Linked DNA regions of Homo sapiens: regions 1 and 3 are each linked to region 2. Evidence: promoter capture Hi-C in human tissues and cell types (Jung and others, 2019). All regions are on one chromosome and are shown on one strand. The core of a region is centred on a gene start or on the middle of the fragment in contact, and the rest is flanking DNA. Distances in the headings are between cores, read along the strand shown. Region 1 overlaps MRPS21 (mitochondrial ribosomal protein S21). Region 2 holds the start of LYSMD1 (LysM domain containing 1). Region 3 holds the start of RPRD2 (regulation of nuclear pre-mRNA domain containing 2).

What was found. Contacts are between HindIII fragments. The study calls those that stand out against the background at their distance.
Region 1: a fragment that was not itself captured here is called in contact with the fragment with the promoter of LYSMD1 in region 2 in 3 of the 25 tissues and cell types used here (dorsolateral prefrontal cortex, lymphoblastoid cells and spleen).
Region 3: a contact is called between the fragment with the promoter of RPRD2 here and the fragment with the promoter of LYSMD1 in region 2, in 1 of the 25 tissues and cell types used here (dorsolateral prefrontal cortex).

The regions. Positions count from the first base shown.
Region 1 is chr1:150,299,346-150,302,820 of GRCh38, reverse strand. All of the region lies in intron 2 of MRPS21 (mitochondrial ribosomal protein S21), which reads right to left. Among named protein-coding and RNA genes, the nearest start is that of MRPS21, 7.2 kb to the right of the region's middle. The HindIII fragment of the contact is 5,855 bases long and covers 1-3,475 here.
Region 2 is chr1:151,164,352-151,168,091 of GRCh38, reverse strand. LYSMD1 (LysM domain containing 1) reads left to right here and starts at 2,190. Exons shown (of 3, transcript NM_212551.5): 1 at 2,190-3,013. The coding sequence starts at 2,834. TNFAIP8L2-SCNM1 (TNFAIP8L2-SCNM1 readthrough) reads right to left here. Exons shown (of 7, transcript NR_144937.2): 2 at 1,551-1,621; 3 at 1,070-1,158; 4 at 874-971; 5 at 678-766. It overlaps SCNM1 (sodium channel modifier 1), which reads right to left and starts at 1,948. Exons shown (of 7, transcript NM_024041.4): 1 at 1,889-1,948; 2 at 1,551-1,621; 3 at 1,070-1,158; 4 at 874-971; 5 at 678-766. The coding sequence starts at 1,939. RefSeq lists enhancers at 1,900-1,949, 1,296-2,002, 1,970-2,249, 2,003-2,708. The HindIII fragment of the contact is 12,820 bases long and covers 1-3,740 here.
Region 3 is chr1:150,361,915-150,365,593 of GRCh38, reverse strand. It overlaps RPRD2 (regulation of nuclear pre-mRNA domain containing 2), which reads right to left and starts at 1,447. Exons shown (of 11, transcript NM_015203.5): 1 at 675-1,447. The coding sequence starts at 879. RefSeq lists enhancers at 1-176, 660-939, 1,690-1,999, 2,160-2,229, 2,210-3,152. The HindIII fragment of the contact is 19,991 bases long and covers 1-3,679 here.

The DNA.
Region 1 (3,475 bases), core at 438-2,937, 860 kb after region 2:
TCCCTATAGTAGAGGTATCTACTCAACTTTACCTCTAACAGAAAAGGATGCAAGAAAAGCTTTGTAAAACACAAGAATAGAGGGGGTGTTACTAATGATGCTTCCTTCTGCTTCCAAAAGTAGTTCAAGGACTAGTACATCAAGAGCTTTAGAGTAAACAGATCAGCCTGGAGTTCGGGCGCCTGGCAACCTAATACTGAAGGAGAAACCAGCTGCCAGTTTTAGTGAAATTCAAATGATTATGTAAAAGGAGCCAAGCTGCCTGGAGCGGGGGGAGGTGCGGGTGGCAGACTCACATGTCAGTGTAGCCAGTCTACGTCAGGACAGACGTGTATGCAGAAGGACTCAATGGACCCAGAAGGTAGCCCACTAGGAGTAAAAGGAGTCAACAGGGCATGCTTCCAGTGTACTCACCTTTCTTTGCTTGGGGGCCAGCCAATCATGCAGGGCTTCCTAGCAACCCCCACTCTCCACCTTCTCATCCCGGGGCACCAATGAGGGCCCCCAGTTATATAACAGGCATTTTGTGGTGGCCTCACTGGACAGACACGTAGGCTATTTCCTTTGTAAGACTCTCTCTGTACTCCAAACATGGTAAAGCTTTAATCACCTCCCTCTAGACTCATTTGCTCTCCTACCTATTGTTGTAATTAGACCACAGAACAAGCAAATTATTTTTAAACTACCAGCTATGAGAAAGCTGAAAGAGATCAGGAGAGGCCTGGAGTGTGAGAAAGATATACAGAAAAAGTGGCTAGAGAGAGGACATTTGGGAAAAGCAGAGAAAAAGAAGAAACAGAAAAGTGCATCAGTCAGAAAATGTGTTTAACAGGCAGCAGGAAAACAGAAGATTGGATCACTCCAAAATCAGTCTGCTCACGTATGCAAGCTTGAAAGTCCTTACCTAGAAAATTATTCTAAGAGGCCGGGCACGGTGGCTCACCCCTGTAATCCCAGCGCTTTGGGAGGCCGGGCGGGCCAATCATGAGGTCAGGAGTTTGAGACCAGCCTGGCCAACATCGTGAAACCCCGTCTCTACTACAAAAAATTAGCCGGACGTGGTGGCAGGTGCCTGTAATCCCAGCTACTCGGGAGGCTGAGGCAGGAGAATCACTTGAACCCGGGAGACAGAGGTTGCAGTGAGGCGAGACCACGCAGTCTGGGCAACAGAGAGAGACTCCGTATTAAAAAAAAAAGAAAGGAAAAAGAAAATTATTCTAAGACTGAAATATTTGTTCATTTCCCCCCTGCCCCGCGAAGCTATAATACAATTTATGGGACTCTGAGTCTATGGGACTTGAATTTCTTTTCCTTTTTTGAGACGAAGTCTCGCTCTCGTCCCCCAGGCTGGAGTGCAATGAATGGCGCGATCTCGGCTCACTGGAACCTCCGCCTCCTGGGTTCAAGCGATTCTCCTGCCTCAGCCTCCTGAGTAGCTGGGATTACAGGCACCTGCCACCATGTCCGGCTAATTTTTTTTCTTTTGAGACGAAGTCTCGCTCTCGTCCCCCAGGTTGGAGTGCAATGGCGCCATCTTGGCTCACTGCAAGCTCCGCCTCCCGGGTTCACGTCATTCTCCTGCCTCAGCCTCCCGAGTAGCTGGGACTATAGGCGCCCGCCACGGCGCCCAGCTAATTTTTTGTATTTTTAGTAGAGACGGGGTTTCACTGTGTTAGCCAGGATGGTCTCGATCTCCTGACCTCGTGATCCGCCCCCCTCAGCCTCCCAAAGTGCTGGGATTACAGGCATGAGCCACCGCGCCCGGCCAATTTTTGTATTTTTTTTAGTAGAGACAGGGTTTCATCATGTTGGCCAGGCTGGTCTTGAACTCCTGACCTCAGATGATCCACCCGCCTCGGCCTCCCAAAGTGCTGAGCTTACAGGGGTGAGCCACCGCGCCTGGCCAAATTTATTTTTCTAACCACTCCTCTTCTTTCTTAAAAAGAAAAGAATATAATTCTTTTCTTTTTAAGCAATGTAAATTGCTTTTTTCCAAATCCTACTCCTACTTTGGTGTTTTAATCCCTGAAGAAAAGGTAATACTGTGCTTCTTAACCAGGGTAATTAACAGAATGCCAAAGGATACAAGTTTCTGGACAAATTTGATGCATCTGCCTGGAGGCACCAATTTTAACTCGAAGGAGTGGGGGTGTTACCCATAAAACAGATGCAATGGCAACGAATACGAAGTTCACCTTACATTTTAATTTAGGGAAGCTTCAAAGAAATTCCATGTTTGCTTATAGTAGCAGAACCCCTATAGTTCATTCACTCTCCTCTGCTGTTAACGACACTTCAGTAAAAAAGTTTGACAAACATTAAATAAGTGACAAAAAAGATAAAGGAACATTTATGTTCATTAAGTAGACATTTAATGAGAGCTTTGGATGTGCCAGACACTTTGGTAAATCCAAGAGATACACAAATGAAAAAGCATAGGTTTCTGTCCTTAAGGAGGCTACAAGCCTTTTTTTTTTTGAGACAGGGTCTCACTTTGTCACCCAGGCTGGAGTGCAGTGGCGCGATCTCGGCTCACTGCAACCTCCAGCTCCCAGGTTCAAGCGATTCTCCTGCCTCAGCCTCCCGAATAGCTGGGATTACAGGTATGCACCATCATACCCGGCTAATTTTTATATTTTTAGTAGAGACGGGGTTTTACCATGTTGGCCAGGCTGGTCTTGAACTCCTAACCTCAAATGATCCGCCCCCCTCAGCCTCCCAAAGTGCTGGGATTACAGGCATGAGTCACTGTGCCCAGCCAGGAGGCTACAAGTCTATTATAATAATTTTCAATCCTGGTGAAATCTCATGGTATGTTTTTTAAAATGCTGCCATCCAGGTTGCAACCCCTGGAGATTCTGATTCATCTCAGATTGGGCCCTGGCATTAGTTTTGTTTTCTTGATGGTTCGTTCCCTAGGTGATCCTAATAGGCAGCCAGGGTTGAAACCACAGGGTGTCACACTGACCACTCTCCGGCTCTCTAATATTAACACTTCGACCCAGGAAATAGGTTTGTGTAAAATGCCAGTCACCAACAAAAAGAGAACCATAAAAGTAGTATGTGGGCTGGGTGTGGTGGCTCACACCTGTAATCCCAGCACTTTGGGAGACAGAGGCGGGTGGATCACCTGAGGTCAGGAGTTCGAGACCAGCCTGGCCAACATGGTGAAACCCCGTCTCTACTAAAAATACCAAAACTAGCCAGGCGTGGTGGCAAGTGCCTGTAATCCCAGCTACACGGGGGGCTGAGGCAGGAGAATCACTTGAACCTGGGAGGCGGAGGTTGCAGTGAGCCGAGATCATGCCACTGCACTCCAGCTTGGGGGACAAGAGCGAGACATCGTCTCAAACAAACAAACAAACAAACAAACAAAAAACAGAAAAAAAAACAGGAAAAGCAAAAACTGAGTGTTGATTAAATTAAAAATATAGTGGCTGGACAAGGATTTTTAAAAGAGGCAGATAAAAAGGGG
Region 2 (3,740 bases), core at 941-3,440:
CTATGACTCCCAACCTCTTAAAACAGTGCTTCTTAAACTATATTTCTCAAGATATTAATAAGTTCTGCATACAAAGGATTTCAGAATCATGAATTTGGGAAAGGCTAGCTTAAAATTTTACAAGTTTTTTTTAATCTTAAGACTTTGTATAGTTTTTAAAACTGTTATTCTTCAAGTAGAATTACAAAGTGCCATTTCCCAAACTTTATTTAAAAATCACAAAATTCTCCTTTTCTTTTTCTTTCTTTTCTTTTTTTTTTGAGATGGAGTCTCACTCTGTCACCCAGGCTGGAGTGAAGTGGTGTGACCGTGGCTCACTGCAACCTCTGTCTCCCGGATTCAAGCAATTCTCCTGCCTCAGCCTCTTGAGTAGCTGGGATTACAGGCACACACCACACACCCAGCTAATTTTTTACATTTTTGGTAGAGACAGGATTTCACCATGTTGGCCAGGCTGGTCTTGAACTCCTGACCTCAAGTGATCCACCCACCTCAGCCTCCAAAAGTGCTGGGATTACAGGCGTGAGTCACCGCGCCCAGCCAAAATTCTCCTTTTCTTGAAACACTAAGTAACATCTCCAGAACACTAGTATTCCTCAGAATACACACTGGAAAACTCTTTTAGAGCCATCTGTCTCCTTCTGAGCCTTCCTACCTCTGGCTTTCCCGTCCCATACCTGTACTTCCGGCGGCAGCAACTGTTATAGTGGGGAGCTCTGTGCAGAGCACTCTGGGTGATAAGTCGTGTCTGAGTTAGCAGAGGAGCCTGGTAAGGAGATGGGAGACAGAGTCAGAGCCTTCAGCCCTCCGCCCTTCCAGCCTGGTGTGTGCAGCAGGGTCTTGCCTAGAACACACTCTCCACTCTCTGATTACCTCAGCTTTGGTTTCTTCCCTTCTCAATTCATTCTGATGTTTTGGATTCTGCTTTCTTTCCTTTCCCGGCTGCTTCTTGCCATAGAAAAGCTGCAAGCCTGAGGAGAAAGGGAAACAGAATTAAAAGCATAGCACCAAGAGTGGTGTGCAGAGATTTCGAGGGTTTATTCCCCATCCCGTCTTCCCCCTAACTTACTGGACAGATGTTTCTTGCCTGCACGGTGGGCAGTCAGCATGGCCAGGGTGTCCAGTACCGGTCGATGGGGGCAGATGGCACAAGCAAAGCTGAGCAGGGGTAGAGAAGAGGATAAGTGGTCCAGGGGAAGAGGGTTGGGCCCGTCCCTGCCATAGGTCCCACCCTGTCCTAGCAGTCTTTGCAAAACCCAACTCCCTGGTGACCCAATCTCCACTTCTTCCAGTCCTCACTGGCCGCCAAAGAATCCTAGGTACTCCTGCTGTCCTAATTAATAACAAAAGTTTGTTGAAGCCAGGCGTGGTGGCATGCGCTTGTAAACCCAGCTAATCGCGACGCTGAGGAGGCAGGATCACTTGAGCCCTAGAGTTCGAGGGCAGCCTGGGCAGCACCGCGAGACCTCCGTCTCAAAGGAAAAAAAAAAAAAAGTCTATTGAGCCTCTAACCGCAGAACCCTCAGGCTTGAGCCACTCCTTGCTCTTACCGTCCATCCCGAAGCATCAGCGCCTCATCCTCTGGAATGTAACTGGCTAGGAGGTCCCCGACTCTTCTTTTCTGCAGGGAGTAGGGGAAGAAATCCGGACGGGATCAGCGGGATAGGAGAGAGGGGTGGAAGTGAAATTATAGAAATGAGGAGTGAAATGGAATAAGGACCCTGGGGAGAACAGCGATCATAGACCGAAAAAGGAGTCACTACACAGCTCTAAGTCGCCTGGTTCTCTCCTGCACCCCCGAGTTGTTGCCAGAGCAATGAAACAAAGCTCCTTCCCAACCTTCAGGGAGCGACTGAAGCGGCTCCAGATCCTCTCCGCTCACGCTTACTTTGAGCACATTGAGTTGACTCCAATCGTCTCCTTCCCTCTTGAAAGACATCACGACTGTGAGTCCCAGAAGTGATAAATTCTCTGTTCCGGTTTCGCCACTCCTCCAGGCCACCGTAGCAAGAGCGGGACAGCGCCTTCTCTTTTTTCCTTCTCTTCCTGTCGGCCTCCGTACTTCCGGGGACGCACTTCCACGCATGCATTGCGCGATCCGGAAATCCACTCTCTGGTGCTCGGAGGGAACTGCATTTCCTATGGTGCCCTGCGACTCCGCAGACGCGGAGCCTTTTGGGAAATGAAGTCTTTTCTCAAAGACCTTGCCGCTCAACTGGATCCAGGCCCTTGCATCTTGGCGGATCTGAGGCGTTTGGAGGGACAACAACCTAGATGTGGAGCCGAAATTTGAGGGTGTGACCTATCTTATGCGGAGCGGACCTTTGAGGATCTCTGAGTGGAAGGTGTACTACAAATTCTTGCAATCCTCACGCTCTTCGTCTGCGGCGACAGTTCACCTGGGGTGGGCCTGATTTGTTCCTGACTCTAGCAAACAAACCCCGGGACCGGGGAGAGCTGGGATGTTGGAGCGCCCTGAGGCCAGGCTACTTGGGGGCAAACTGAGGAAAGAGTGTTGAGGATTATTTCTAGAGTTCAAAGGTCAGAGGTCAATGTAGCGAGGAGTTGTGGGGGAGTCCAAAGTCGGAGGGGTGCTTAGGGGAGAATTAGGGAGGGACTGAATACTCAAGGGACAGATTTGTGGATAAGTAGCTTGGAGGGAGGAGAAACCGGGAGGGGGCAGATGGCGTAGTGCTGGGGAGGCGGGGACACAGGGGAAGAGAGAGGGGGAAAGGAATCCCCTGAATATTCATTCCCAGACTTCAGGCCTGTCAGTCGCAGTCTCGGTCGTACCTCCCCTAGTTGCAACCTTAGCTGTTGGCAGGGTGAAGAGATGGCTTCCCCGTCTAGACAGCCCCCGCCAGGGGGGTCAGGACTGCTTCAAGGGAGCCGGGCTCGTTCATATGGAAGCCTGGTGCAATCGGCCTGCTCCCCAGTGAGGGAAAGACGCCTGGAGCATCAGTTGGAGCCCGGAGACACCCTGGCTGGACTAGCACTCAAATATGGGGTGACGGTGAGTTTTCCAGGATTGGGGTGAAGACAACAGTCAGGAGGGATTTAGTCCTGAGAAGAATGTAGTGGCCCTTCTAGGTAACCTCCCCTGAAATGTTCCTAATGTGTTGCACTCTGTTCTGCCTTTATCTTTGTTTTCCCATCACAGTGTTGCACAAGTCCTGCCCTACTATTCCAACGGAGAGGAACAGCTCCTATTTTATTATGCCAGACACTGTGCTGAGGGCTTCACATACGTTAGCTCATTTCACCCTCACATCTGTATCAAGTATACATTTATCGTTCCCTTTTGGCAGATGAAGAAACTGAGACTTGGATTGGTTAACCAGTTTGGCTAAGGTCAAATAATGAGCGTCAGATTTGGGATTCAAACAGGTCTGTCTGACTCTATTAACCACACAGAAAATTTTATGTTGAGAGTGATTAAACGTTTACAGCAACTAATGGAGAGCTGATTTTTAGTTCTCAGTTCCTAAAGTGCCCACCTCTCCTTGCTCTTGGTTCCTCCTCAATGCTCTGCCTTCTTTCCAGTAAGGTGGCCTCCTTTGTGCAAAACAGGTACTCTACACCAAGTATTTCAGGTCATGCATGGGGGAAATTGGATAGATGTAAAAATGTACAGCATTGAAGTTGATGGGGTTACTCCCCCTATCCCTGCCCCTGTTTTCTTGTTCCATCTCACTCAAACAAATGTTGAATTTAGCCAACATTTTTATGCTTGCTGTATT
Region 3 (3,679 bases), core at 198-2,697, 800 kb after region 2:
AACTGGACACGCTTTATATTTGAAGGTATTAACGATGATACTGACTACTGTATCGCAGTTGTTTCTGGTCAGTATCCAAGAAACCTGTATTTTATTGCAGCAAACACAGGTACAGGGAAAACCCGGTGGTGCCTCAGATCTATGTAGAGCTCATGCTGCTTCTTAACATTCATCCAGGTAAGGCTCTCCTTACTACACATCACAAGTTTTAGATACATTCATCCAGACAAGGCACTCCTCATTAAACATCACTGGATTTACTACTGCTTAAAACCACAGCTCGCCTACCATCAGGAAAGCCAGAAATCATTAACACGTCAAGGCCTGTAAGAAATAAACAGACGCTACAATTTCCGCGAAGGTTCGGAAAAATCAATACACCTTACAAGGCTCTGAAATATTAAAAACAATATACGTAAATCTCCATGGATCTGGGCCCAACGGCCCAAGGTCACAACAATTCAATGGCTAAAAAACCCAAGAAATGAGTCTCCTGCAATTCAGGACAATCCTGGCTAGGAATGGAGTCTGGGTTTGGGACCACTGGGGTCAAACCTTTAATGTGAACAACCCCAACCAAATGCTGCGGCTCCGTGGGAAAACCCCAAGCGTTTCAGGCCACACTTCCTTCCATTTCCCCAGTCTTCCCTTCCCTAGTCACCCCCAACACTCACATCTCCGGAGCCACTTCATCCAATGATAGACGATAGTACTGTGGTGTTTTTTGTTCTCTATACACCAAGACGACAAGCCTTGAATGGACTCCATGGTGTTGGTTACCGACTGGAATTTTCGATCCAACGAGGACTCCAGAGCCCCTGCCGAAGAGGCCGACGAGGAGGAGGCCTTACTGCTGCCTCCGCCGCCGCCGGCCGCCATCTTCCCGGTTTGCACAAGCGCTGCTGCTCCTCTGGCGGCGGCGGCGGCGGCGGCGGCGGGAGCGGGCAAAACAATCACTGCGAGTGCGTGAAAGCCGTAGGTGGGGAGGGAAGCTAGGGGGTGGGGATGGTGCACGCGCTGGGCTCTTCTGGAGGTACGGACGGGAACACCAGCTGCTGGGCACGCTGGCAGCTCCTACACGCTGCAAGGAGGGGCTGCGGGTCTCGGAGGTTTTATCAATATTGTTCAAGGGGTCGTGTTTAAACCAGTCAGTAATCACGGAAAAATTACGCAGAAAACAGGACCTGCAAAGCCTTTCAAAACGCCTGACGCCGAAACTAATCGTTTTATACTTTTCGGCTCTCAGTGCTAAGGCCCTTCCCCGCCCCTGTTCCCACACTCCTGTGAGCCAGGTCGGGCGTTAATATCTTAAATGTAATACTACCCGACTGCCCCTTCAGTTGCAGAAATCTTTCTTTCCTTTAGACTCGCTAGCACAGAAAAGGTCCAAGGCTACCTAGTCAGGATTTTTTTTGCAACGCAATAGCAGCAAAGGGGCAGCAACAGTATCGCGCACGCGCCACTTGGCCCCACCCCCCTACCCCTGCTTCCTTCTCAACCTTGAAAGCAGAGGGAGGCGTGATGGCGGGGCAACCTGACCAATCAGGAGTGGAGAACCACAAGCGCGCGCAGGAGCTCTGAAGCCCCCAGGGCCCAGGAGGCGCTACGATTATTTTTGCGCCTGCGCAGAAGATAAGCGTGTAACGGGATGGAAGGAAAAACTGGGAGGGATGGGTGAGGGAGCTGGTATAACTAAGGTTAGCCGGGTGGGGGGGTTCCCCTGCCCCGCCCTTTGCTGCTTTTGGCCGCTCTCTTGGGTGTGTTCAGCTCACACAACAGAGACAGAAAATTCCCACCACTGAGACCACTGTTAGTCTTCAGGGGGCTGCAGCCATCGCCCCCAACTCCTCGGAGGAGCAACGCGCGACAAAATGGCTGGCAGCCATCTTGCGGCACCACAAAAGATGCGCATGCGCCAGATCCAGTGAGCCATTCACTACGCAGACTCCGACACCAAACCGTATTTATTGCTGCCCATAGAAGATAACATTCACAGCCGCTTGACCATTTAGGTTACAGGAAAAGGAAATAAATGAGGAAGTGAAAGGAAATTTTCCTCATAAAATTTTTCGAGGCGAAAAAAGAATGGCAAGATGTGACCTCATTTTCGCCAGCTATGATACAATCTTAAAATTGCATAATACATTACAGTTTTCAAGAGTCTTACGTAACTATTATATGAACCTTATACGAACCATTTTATCGCAGGTATCTATGTAAATCCTCTGAGCTAATTTAAAGGCTCCTGTGTTCCCACTAAACATATACAGTTTTAATTCTTTTAACGTCTCCTCACTGCGGCCATGCCTCTTGAGGCAGGGAACCTGTTTTGTCAAGTTCATGTCCACTATTCATTAATTCAACGAGTTGTTGAACCTCTTGTGCCAAGTACTGTTTTAGATCATGGGGAGCAAAACAGACAAAAATCCGTTCCCTCCGGGATTTAGTGGCAGGACACCACCAACAAGTACATTTCAGACAGTATTAAATTCTGTAAAAAGGTGAAGCAGGGTAAGGGAGAAAGGGGTGTGTGTGTGTGCGCGCGTGTGTGTACGTGTGCACGGCACGCACGCGCCAGTATAAGAATGGTGGTATGGTGAACCAGGAAGTCTTCTCGAAAGAAATAACTCGATCTGAACATTGAGAAAAAAGCAACCAAGCAGATATGCGAGACGGGGAGCGGAACATGCTGGCATTAGGAACAGCAAGTGCAAAGGCTCTAAAATACAGTCTCGCTCTGTCCCTGCCAAGGCTAGAGTGCAGTGGCACTATCATATCGCACAGCAGCCTCAATCCCCCAGACTCAAGTGGTCCTCCTGCCTCAGCAGCACAAGTAGCTGGGACTACAGGCCTGCACCACCACACCTAGCTAAAAAAACAAAACAACAACAACAACATTTTTTTGAGAGGGGGAGTCTCCCTATGTTGCCCAGGCTGGTCTCAAACTCCTAGCCTCAAGCAGTCCTCCTGCTTTCAGCCTCCCGAAGTGCTGGGATTATAAGCTTGAGCCGCCATGCCTGGTCCTGACCCCACATTTTTTTTTTTTCTGTAACTCTAGCCAAAGACCCACTTTTTTATAGACTATTTTTAGAGCAGTTTTAGATTCACGGCAATTGTGTGGAAAGCACAAGGAATTCCATATACCACCTGCCCCCACACATGAATACCCTCCCCCATTATCAATGTCACGCACCAGAACGATACATCTGTTACAACTGACAAACCTACACTGACACATTATCACCCAAAGCCCATAGTTTACATTAGGGTTCGCTCTTGGTGTTATACCTTGAGTTTGGACAAATGTGCATGTATCCACCATTACAGTATCATACAGAGCAGTATCACTGCTCTAAAAACCTCTGTGTTCCACCTATTCATCCTTCCCTCCCCCTTATTCCCCTAGCGACTACTAATCTTTTTACTGTCTTCATAGTTTTGCCTTTTCCCGAATGTCATATAGGTGAAATCATTCAGTATGTAGCCTTTTCAGACTGGCTTTTTTCACTTAATAATATGCATTTCAGGCGGGGCACGGTGGCTCATGCCTGTAATCCCAGCACTTTGGGAGGCCGAGGTGGGTGGATCACGAGGTCAGGAGTTCGAGACCAGCCTGGCCAACATAGTGAAACCCCCGTCTCTACTAAAAATACAAAAATTAGCCGTGCATGGTGGCGCA